Regions from separate parts of the Homo sapiens genome. Here region 2 is linked to region 1. Evidence: promoter capture Hi-C in human tissues and cell types (Jung and others, 2019). All regions are on one chromosome and are shown on one strand. The core of a region is centred on a gene start or on the middle of the fragment in contact, and the rest is flanking DNA. Distances in the headings are between cores, read along the strand shown. Region 1 holds the start of LTK (leukocyte receptor tyrosine kinase). Region 2 has its middle 2.8 kb from the start of MGA.

Evidence for each region. Contacts are between HindIII fragments. The study calls those that stand out against the background at their distance.
Region 2: a contact is called between a fragment that was not itself captured here and the fragment with the promoter of LTK in region 1, in 1 of the 25 tissues and cell types used here (IMR-90 fibroblasts).

Annotation. Positions count from the first base shown.
Region 1 is chr15:41,511,523-41,516,586 of GRCh38, reverse strand. It overlaps LTK (leukocyte receptor tyrosine kinase), which reads left to right and starts at 2,760. Exons shown (of 20, transcript NM_002344.6): 1 at 2,760-2,920; 2 at 3,467-3,610; 3 at 3,709-3,880; 4 at 4,322-4,472; 5 at 4,624-4,770; 6 at 5,009-5,064. The coding sequence starts at 2,878. RefSeq lists a silencer at 3,395-3,474 and an enhancer at 3,181-3,928. The HindIII fragment of the contact is 13,334 bases long and covers 1-5,064 here.
Region 2 is chr15:41,655,090-41,660,153 of GRCh38, reverse strand. It overlaps a transcript of MGA not described here. Among named protein-coding and RNA genes, the nearest start is that of MGA, 2.8 kb to the left of the region's middle. The HindIII fragment of the contact is 6,605 bases long and covers 1-5,064 here.

The DNA.
Region 1 (5,064 bases), core at 1,511-4,010:
CAAAGTGCTAAGATTACAGGCATGAGCCGCTACACTTGGCCTATTTTGGTAGTTTCTACATTGTTCTTTGGTCTGAATTCTAAACTTTAGGCTTTCTTAGACTGTCTTTTGCTGTGTGGATTACTTATTGTGTTTGCAAGTAACCAGAGTCAGAGCAGTGTGCCAAGGCCTAGCCCTGTCAGTAGGTAGAGAGAACCCAGTCTTCATAAATGGAGCTGCTGAACACAGAATTATCCAATAGGTTTTTTTGGGTTTTTTTTTTTTTTTTTTTGACACGAAGTCTTGCTCTGTTGCCCAGGCTGGAGTGCAGTGGGGCAATCTCAGCTCACCACAACCTCCCCCTCCCTAGTTCAAGCCATTCTCCTGCCTCAGCCTCCCAAGTAGCTGGGATTACAGGCGCGTGCCACCACGCCTGGCTAATTTTTGTATTTTTAGTAGAGATGGGGTTTTGCCATGTTGGCCAGGCTGGTCTTGAACTCGAACTCCTGACCTCATGATCCGCCCGCCTCAGCCTTCAAAAGTGCTGGTATTACAGGCATGAGCCACTGGGCCCAGCCTTTTTTTCTTTTTTTTTTTTGAGACAGAGTCTTACTCTGTAGCCCAAGCCAGAGTGTAGTGGCATGATCTTGGCTCACTGCAACCTCCGTTTCTGAGGCTCAAGTGATTCTCATGCCTCAGCCTCCCGAGTAGCAGGGGCTACAGGCATGCACCACCACACCGGGCTAGTTTTTTGTATTTTTATTAGAAGCGGTGTTTTGCCATGTTGCCCAGGGTGGTCTCAGACTCCTAAGCTCAGGCAATCCGCCCACCTCAGCCTCCTAAAGTGCTGGGATTATAAGTGTGAGCCACAGCATGTGGCCCCAATAGGTTTTATTAAGCAACTACTGTATCAGCAAATACCAATGATTCTCAAACTTTGTGACAAAAATCATCTGGAGGATATTTTAAAACAGATCACTGGGTCCTACCACCAGAAGCTGCTGATTCAGTACATCTGGGGTGAAACCCAAGAATCTGCATTTCTAACAAGTTCCCAGGTAATACTGATGCTGATGTTCAGAACAAACCACACAACCACAATTTGAAGAGCAGTGGCTTAAAGAGACTTTGCAAGGTAAATTCTGTGATCTCATAGTGTGATATCTAGTGTTAAGTAGGGCATAGAGACCAGGGTTTTTTTGTTTTTTGTTTTTTTTGAGATGGAGTCTCACTCTGTCACCCAGGCTGGAGTGTAGTGGTGCAATCTCGGCTCACTGCAACCTCTGCCTTCCAGGTTCAAGCAATTCTCTGCCTCAGCCTCCCAAGTAGCTGGGATTACAGGCACCTGCCACCACGCACGGCTAATTTTTGTATTTTTAGTAGAGACGGGGTTTCACCATCTTAGCCAGGCTGGTCTTGAACTCCTGACCTTGTGATCCACCCCACCCCCACCGTCCCCTTGGCCTCCCAAAGTGCTGGGATTACAGGTGTAAGCCACCACGCCTGGCTGAGACCAGACTTTTTACAAAATCACTGTTCTGTTTACACCTTGAATTATACTCAGACTTTACCAAGTAGCTAACTACTATAACTTCTCTTTTGAAGTATTTTGTATTAAACATAGGTCTCAGACTTTCAAGTTAGGATTTTTTTTTTTTTTTTTTTTTTGAGATGGGGCTTTGCTCTTGTTGCCCAGGCTGGAGTGCAATGGTGCGATCTCGTCTCTGCAACCTCTGCCTCCCAGGTTCAAGCCATTCTCCTGCCTCAGCCTCCAGAGTAGCTGGGATTACAGGCGTGCGCTACCACGTGTGTCTGATTTTGTATTTTTAGTAGAGACGGGATTTTGCCATGATGGTCTAGCTAGTCTCGAACTCCTGACCTCAGGTGATCTGCCCGCCTCAGCCTCCCAAAGTGCTAGGATTACAGGCATGAACCACCGCACCCGGCAAATGATCATTTAAGCAAATGATCGAAGACTCAAGACACAAAACTACCTGAAGGGAGTGGCTCCCACATTTGTAGGGTACCTTACAGAGCAATTTCCCTTCATATGATTTTGCAGGTGGTGGGGAAACTCTCAGGGCAGTTGTGGCCTGTGCTACATCACCCATTGACCAGAGGTGCCAGTACTAGTGCTCAAGATCAATCGATCGATCGGTCTACCTACCTATCATCTATTGACCTTCAGTGCTACTAAAAACACTCGGATCTTCTAACGTCTGGTCCAGTCTTTCACCCCATCACAGTGAGAGGCTGTGCACAGGGGTAACACAGGCAACGGAATTATATGAGGCAAACACAGAGATCCAGGTTTCTGGGAGTAGCAATGAGGTTCAGCCTTGCAGTCACAAAGGCACCACTAAAAGGCACAAGTAATGGCAGGTAATGAGGCCTTACTTGGAGCAGTTTAGAGTACTTCCCACGTGTGGTGACGCATGCCACACACTCACCACCACCACCACTGCCACAAATGAAGTGCACACTCCACTGCTCCTGTCCTCAGGAACCTGGAAGCCCCCACCTGGTGTCCGAGGTGTGGCTCCCACTTTAAGCGTGGGGCACCTCCTCTCCGGCCTCAAACCTACCGGAGCTCCCAGCAGGCTGCGGCACATCTGACGGCTGGAAACTAGAACCCCTGGGTGGGGACTCCTTAAGGCTCCTCCCGGAAGCGTAGGGACCTCGCTGCCCACACGCCCCTCCCTTTCCTCCTCTGGCGTCCTGGGGTCTGAGGTGGGCGTGGCCAGACCAGCTTTAGGTCCGGGGAGTGTCTCGCCAGCGGCAGCACACCCCTGTAAGTGGTGGCCAGGGCTGCCGTGGCAAAATGAGCTGTCAACTTTAGGTTGACAGGGGTGTGGCCGCGACCGCAAGGGCTTTTGTTGCCGGGTGGACCCAACAGGGATGGGCTGCTGGGGACAGCTGCTGGTGTGGTTCGGAGCCGCGGGTAAGTGCTATCTGGCGGTCAGGGGACCGTCCAGCCTGAGGCACTTTCCTAGGCTTGGGGGTGGCCGGTCAACAGGCCAGGTGTCAGTGGTTCCTCCAGAGGCCTCGAACTCTCACAGCCAAATTTCTCCGGTCCGTGCTTCTGGAGTGCGGGCCGAGAAGCGCCAAGTGCGTGCGAATCCCAGAGTCTGGATCACGCAGCTTGGGAAGGAGGAACATTCTTTGGGGTCTCAGCACCGCCTTGGGGCGGGGCCACCAATCTAAGTTGAGGAAAGCATTGGGGAGGCTGCAGGACCAAATTCATTGCGGCCCCTAAGTTATTCACTGGGAAAGGCGCTCGAGGAGAGAAACTGGCAGACCTATCAGCGCGCACCCGCGGGGCTTCTGCGACCGGAGTCGGGTAGTGGCTTCCAGGCTGAGAGCGCGGCTGGGCCGGGTGACGGGTGTGGCCGCGACCGCAAGGGCAGCTGTTGCGGGGTTCTCTCTTTCTTTCATATCCTATTTCCACCCGCCTTAACGTCCTGCGCCTTCTCCCAACACCTTTCAGGCGCCATTCTCTGCTCTAGCCCGGGGTCCCAGGAGACTTTTCTGCGGTCCTCGCCCCTGCCGCTGGCAAGTCCCAGCCCCCGGGACCCGAAAGTCAGCGCCCCGCCTAGTATCTTGGAGCCAGCCTCCCCGCTGAATTCTCCGGGTGAGCTTTAGACGCCTCCTTCCTCTTTCGCTCACCATACCAGACCCCTCTGGCCCAGCCAGGGGCTCGACGACCCTTGCCTCGCTCCTTGCTCTCAGGCACCGAGGGGTCTTGGCTGTTTTCTACCTGCGGGGCCAGCGGCCGGCATGGGCCCACACAGACACAATGTGACGGGGCGTACGCGGGGACCAGCGTGGTGGTGACCGTGGGGGCCGCCGGGCAGCTGAGAGGCGTGCAGCTGTGGCGCGTGCCGGGCCCTGGCCAGTATCTGTAAGTGCACGGCGGAGGTAGGGTGGACAGTGACCTGCTAGTTGGAGGTTTCACCCTCAGGGTAACGAAGTCCACGTGCGCACCGACTTGCGTCTTGGACTATTCCGCGGGGAGGTCCACCTTGAGTGCCCTTCAAGGTGGCAGTAGTCGCCACCGAGTTAGCCCTTACCCGGAACCTCTTACACCGAGCGGAAGGCCCCCAACCAGGGCGGCGCCAAGGGGTGCTTGAGCCTCCCCACATTTCCACGAACCCTCCTGAAATAAGTGTAATATCTGATTTTTCGGTGTGCAAACCTACCCTTCCCATCCCGTCAGAGTCGATTGCAGCCTCCAAGTCCCTCAGATAAAAAATAATTCTGGAGCCTCCTCTGTCGCCAACTTCTGCCCGGAGCGGCCGGCCTGAGCACCGAAGGCCGGGGACTCACCGTCCGTTCCCCGCAGGATCTCAGCCTACGGAGCCGCGGGCGGCAAAGGCGCCAAGAACCACCTGTCGCGGGCGCATGGCGTCTTCGTCTCAGCAATCTTCTCCCTCGGTCTCGGGGAGTCGCTGTACATCCTGGTGGGGCAGCAGGGAGAGGACGCCTGTCCCGGAGTGAGCGCAGCCAGTGGGGATGGGGCGGCGCCGGCGCCGGGGGCGAGGGCTGCCTGGGGGCCGGGGGAGCGTGCTTTCCTCGGTGCCGGGTCACCAGCACAGCGAGGGGAGGCTCCCGGGCCCCGCCGATTCCCTCCCCCGCTGCCCGCAGGGTAGCCCGGAGAGCCAGCTCGTCTGCCTCGGGGAGTCTCGAGCCGTTGAAGAGCACGCGGCGATGGATGGGAGCGAAGGGGTCCCGGGGTCGCGGCGCTGGGCGGGAGGTGGCGGGGGTGGCGGGGGCGCCACCTACGTTTTCCGGGTACGTGCTCCCTTCGGCGCTCAGCGTTGGGGTCCCAATCCTCTCCCCAGGGGCGCTCACGCACCGGCTCTCCGTCCGTCCCTTGGGGTCCCCCTATCCCTGCGCTGGGCTGGGCTGGCCTGGGCTGGGCTGGGGGCCCCTGCCCTTATCCAGGCCCCCTGGGCGGGAGCCCTCTCCCAGTGGCAGTGCCCCTGGACAGCTGGAGGGCGCTTCCTGGAACACGCCGCTGGCCCCACAGGTGCGCGCTGGCGAGCTGGAACCGTTGCTGGTGGCGGCCGGAGGCGGCGGTCGGGC
Region 2 (5,064 bases), core at 649-3,148, 140 kb before region 1:
CTCAGGCTTGCACACGAAGCCTTCGTGGAAACTGTGAAACCAATGCCCGGCGGGCCTTTCTCAACTGTGCCTTTCACCCTTTCCCTAGGGCTCCTCGCCGGCTCCGCCCCGGCCGCGCCCAGCCCCACCCACACGGGGCTCCGCAGACCCCCAACCTCCACAAGCCCGTCAAATGAATCTGAGGTCTTCCACCCCGGAGTACCGGGGCTTGGACAGCTCCAGAGCATTGGGAAACCTTGAAGCCAAAGACCTTGAGAGACGGATGGTCGAGTTTACAACATCCACAACCGAAGACGACTAGGAAAATGGGGAGGAGACCGAAAGACTCAGTGCGCAGTTGGAAAGCGAAGAGTTGCCACTAAATTGCCGGATATAAAGATGAAAGATATCTTGATAAAACAGGGAAACGATGCAGGAGTGTGTTATCTAAGCTTTAGTGCCTTGATCCTGTGCATTCAATTTTTGTTTCTTCAAGACATTTAAGCTATGAGGTGCAAAGAAAGTATTAGTGAATATCTATTATGTGTCAGGCAGTTGCTGAAGTAAATCAATGGACAGTATTTCTCCTAACCTTCAAAAAGTAGTTTTCTTTCTCCTTCTCTACTCCTTACCAGCTGTTCTTTCTTCTGTGCTCCTGACACCAGTAAAAAGGAAGCGTAGTTTCTTAAAAGGCAAAAAAGAAGTAGGGAGTAGGAGAGCAGATTTTGTGGTCAATGATCCAAAACTGCCTTCTTTGATAAGAATTAGCAAGCACTGAGAACCTACTACGTGACATGCTATGTGACAATACAAAACACTATGAAGGAGAATGAGAAGACTAAGGAAGGAGTCAACAGAAGGAGGCTTATCCAACACTACTGATCTGACCTACTTTTTACTTAGGAAGGTCATATTTCTCTACACTTTGCTCTTCCTGAGGAGATATACAACAACATTGACAGAAACTGCTGGAATAGTCTGAACTAGAAAACGTGTAGGCTACTTTAGAGACTTCTGAAGGCATTCTGAAACCCCAAGTCAGGCACGGTCAGCAAGAGCATTCAAGATCCTAGGCAAAATTGAAAAGTAACAGTTTAACACCTTCCTCCTCTTCCCTGAACCCAAGAACTTCTTTCCTACAAGCTGCCCTGTCAGAATCTCCCACCTTACCAAGAATGCCTTCCTCTCAAGGATCTGAGGTTTCCTCATAAAAATTTTCCATTTTCTGGGGAAGAAGTAAATTTATGTTGATTTAGCATTAAAATATATGATCATAAGGTGTGAATGACTGGTTAACAACCATGCATCCCCAAAGAGACAAGTTAACCCAAATGATCTCTCTAACTGGGGGATCTGTGAGGACAACTTGGGAAGAAGGGGAATGGAGATTCTCTTTTGGTACTCCTTCCCTACACCAGGCAAACATATAACTAAATACTAGATACTTTAAAAAAACAAAACAAAAAAAAAACGCTGAACTTTGAAGATTCAGTACTACAGATCTCGGTGGGAGAGGAAAACTATCCATAGTTTTTCAAAGTGGAGTCCGCCTAACCTAGAGAGGTCGGGAGATGTCAAGAATCTGAGGGTCCTATGAGAACTTTTAAGTGTTTTTAGATGATATTCTAAAAATAATCATACCACCACACACATTTCAGGGATCCAGTTTGGATTTACCATCATGCAGGTACCAAGTAACCGCTTGTTTTTCTTTTTTATTTTTTGTTTGCTTTGAGTAACCACTTAAATGGTTACATTCAACTTTTAATGCAGCATTCTCATACTAAAGTTCTTGGTTGTATACTTTGGATAATGTAAGAAATTTCCTCCTTTAAAAGGCATCCATATATAACCGAAGGTTTAAGAATGCCAAGCTAACTGCTAAAGTGATGCTCCTAAGTTCCACCTTTTTCAGTTATCATAGCTCAACTTATTGGTCCAGCCTAACACAAAAGTCTTTGCCTTGATTTTCCTAGACTGCACGTTCAAGTAGATTTTTCTGAATATTAAGGGGAAACAAACAAAAAACTAGAGAGAATGCATGCAATTAAACAGTCTGGCCTAGAATGTACACAGTTTTGATCCTAGATTGTTCTATAAACACATAGGCACTATCTCATTTACATGCACACTTTTCCTATTCAGCAAATATCTGAGTGCCTACTATATGCTGAGGATAGGGGAAAGGCTGGCACCCCATGCACTTTTCAGATGTCTACAGCAGAACCCCAAAGATTGGCACAACTTAAGTAACAGAATCCACCAAGACAAACTTCCTCATCCAATCTATTCAGATCCAATCCTTTCGGTTCTGATTTCTAAAACATCCTCTGTCAACTGACAAAAAGACCTCACTCTTCAGATGAAACCACTACCATGAACAAACTCCTGGACTATGGCCTTGTTTAAAATATCAATATAATAAAGAACATTCATAAAATAAGGGCTACATACAGACTGAGTTGCAAAAGATGCTTGTTTTTTTTTTTGTTTTGTTTTGTTTTTACAAAAAGTCCTTCGGCCAGGTGCGGTGGCTCAGTCCTGTAATCCTAGCACTTTGGGAGTCCGAGGCAGGCAGATTGCCTAAGGTCAGGGGTTCAAGACCAGTCTGGCCAACATGGTGAAACCCCGTCTCTACTAAAAATATAAAAAAATTAGCCGGGCATGGTGGCGTGCGCCCATAATCCCAGCCACACGGGAGGCTAAGGCAAGGGAATTGCTTGAACAAGGGAGGTGGAGGTTGCAGTGAGCCGAGATCGCGCCACCGCACTCCAGCCTGAACGACAGAGCAAGACTCCATCTCAAAAAAAAAAAAAAAAAAAAAAAAAAAAAAAAGGGCCTTCACTAGCCAACCTGAAAATTCAGGTCCTAGGCAGAGGGTAAAAAGAGAATCATAGACAACTCCATCCTTGCCCACCATTTAGTACTACAACTGAAATCAAGTCATGCTGGGGGGCAAAGTATGATTGCCACCAATATCTGTAATGAAGGAATTAAGGAATTAAAAATTAACGATTTAAGGAATTAAAAATGGCAAGATATCTGCCTTCAAGGAGCTAATAATGTACCCAAAGAGGAACTTTTAAGACTTTCTGGGCTGGGCGCAGTGGTTCACGCCTGTAATCCCAGCACTTTGGGAGGCAGAGGCAGAAGGCAGGTGGATCGCATGAACCCAGGAGTTCAAAACCAGCCTGGACAACATAGTGAGAACCCATCTCTGCAAAATATTAAAAAATTAGCCAAGTGTGGTGGTGCCTGCAGTCCCAGCTACTCAGGAGGCTGAAGTGAGAGAAATGCTTGACCACAGGAGGTCGAGGCTACAGTGAGCTGTGATTGTGCCACTGCACTCCAGTCTGGGCAACAGTGAGACCTACCCCCCAACCCTGTCTCTTAAAGAAAGAAAAGAGTTTCTTAATCAGCATAGTAATATTAAAAGCATGTTTTAGAAAATGTTAAGAGAAGGGAGGATGAAAAGAAGGACAGAAATGTTACGGAATATAATCAACATTCATTAAGAAACACCCACTGGCTCATGCCTGTAATCCCAGAACTTTGGGAGGCTGAGGTGGGACGGACTGTTTGAGCTCAGGAGTTTGAGAGCAGCCTGGGCAACATGGCAAGACCCTGTCTCTACCAAAAATAAAATAAAAATAAAAATAAAAATAAATAGCTGGGCCTGGTGGTGTGCATCTGCGGTCCCAGCCACTCAGGAGGGTGAGGTGGGAGGACTGTTTAAGCCCAGGGGGCAGAGGTTGCAGTGAGTCAAGATCATGCCACTGCACTCCAGCCTGGGTGTGAGAGAGAGAGAGAGAGAGAGAGAGAGAGAGAGAAGAGAGGAGAGGGAGAGAGAGAAAGAAACACCATTCCTCCTTGCTGCCCCACATCTCAAGCCCACATAACCACGTTCCTCACCCTTGCCTAAGAAGATTGCCCCAGATGCCTCCAGCCTAACTCTATTCACCCTTCATACTTAAGTTTAAATGTATTTTCTTTAAGACGCTTGCCCTAACCCTCATGATCAGGTAAGGTCTTCCAGTTATATGCTCTCATAGTACCCTGTATTTCTTTATGGCATTTACCACAACTGTGTTAATTATTTTTAAAACCACGTATTAATATGTCTTCCGCATTAGACCATTAGCTCCACTCTATTCCAGTGCTGATCACAATGCCTGGGATAGGGTGGACACATATTTGTTGAATAAATAAATAGAAGACCACAGATCCTCATTTTTTAGGCAAGTCTCAATATCAAATACTGATTCAGTGTCCAACAATGTGAGGTTTGGAAAACAGGGTCGTAATACATACTGAAGTTATATTACGTAGTTATATCCCTGGCTTTGGCAAACATTTCCCAAAGGGGTAGAGTTGTGATTTTAAAAAACTAGCACCCAGTGACTCTTATCCCAAATTATTTATCTTTAGGGGAATAGATAAATGTTGACAGGGCAGACACTTGAGGAGATACAAATATTTTTCTAGGAAAGTCTTATTGACTGCCCATTGACTGGATACAGTCTGCCCTCTGTATCTGTGGGTTCCACATCCACAGATTAAACCAATCATGGATCAAAAATATGTGGAAAAAATAAAACAAATAAATGACAATACAACAAAATAAAAAAAAGTATAACTATTTACAAAGCATTTAAATTATACTAGGTATTATAAGTAAAGATGATTTAAAGTATACGGGAAAAGCCAGACACGGTGGCTCACGCCTGTAATCTCAACACTTTGGGAGGCCAAGGTGGACGGATCACTTGAGGTCAGGAGTTCGAGATCAGCCTTGCCAACACAGCAAGGCTCCACTAAAAATACAAAAATTAGCCAGGCATGGTGGCACATGCCTGTAATCCCAGCTACTTGGGAGGCTGAGGCACAAGAATTGCTTGAACTCAGGAGGCGGAGGTTGCAGTTAGCTGACATCCTGCCACTGCACTCCAGCCTGGGTGAAAGAGCAAGACTCTGTCTCAAAAAAAAAAAAAAAAAAGTAAATTAAAAAAATAAAGTATATGGGAGGATGTACATGGGTTACATGCAAATACCATGCCATTTTATAGAAGAGACTTGAGCATCTGA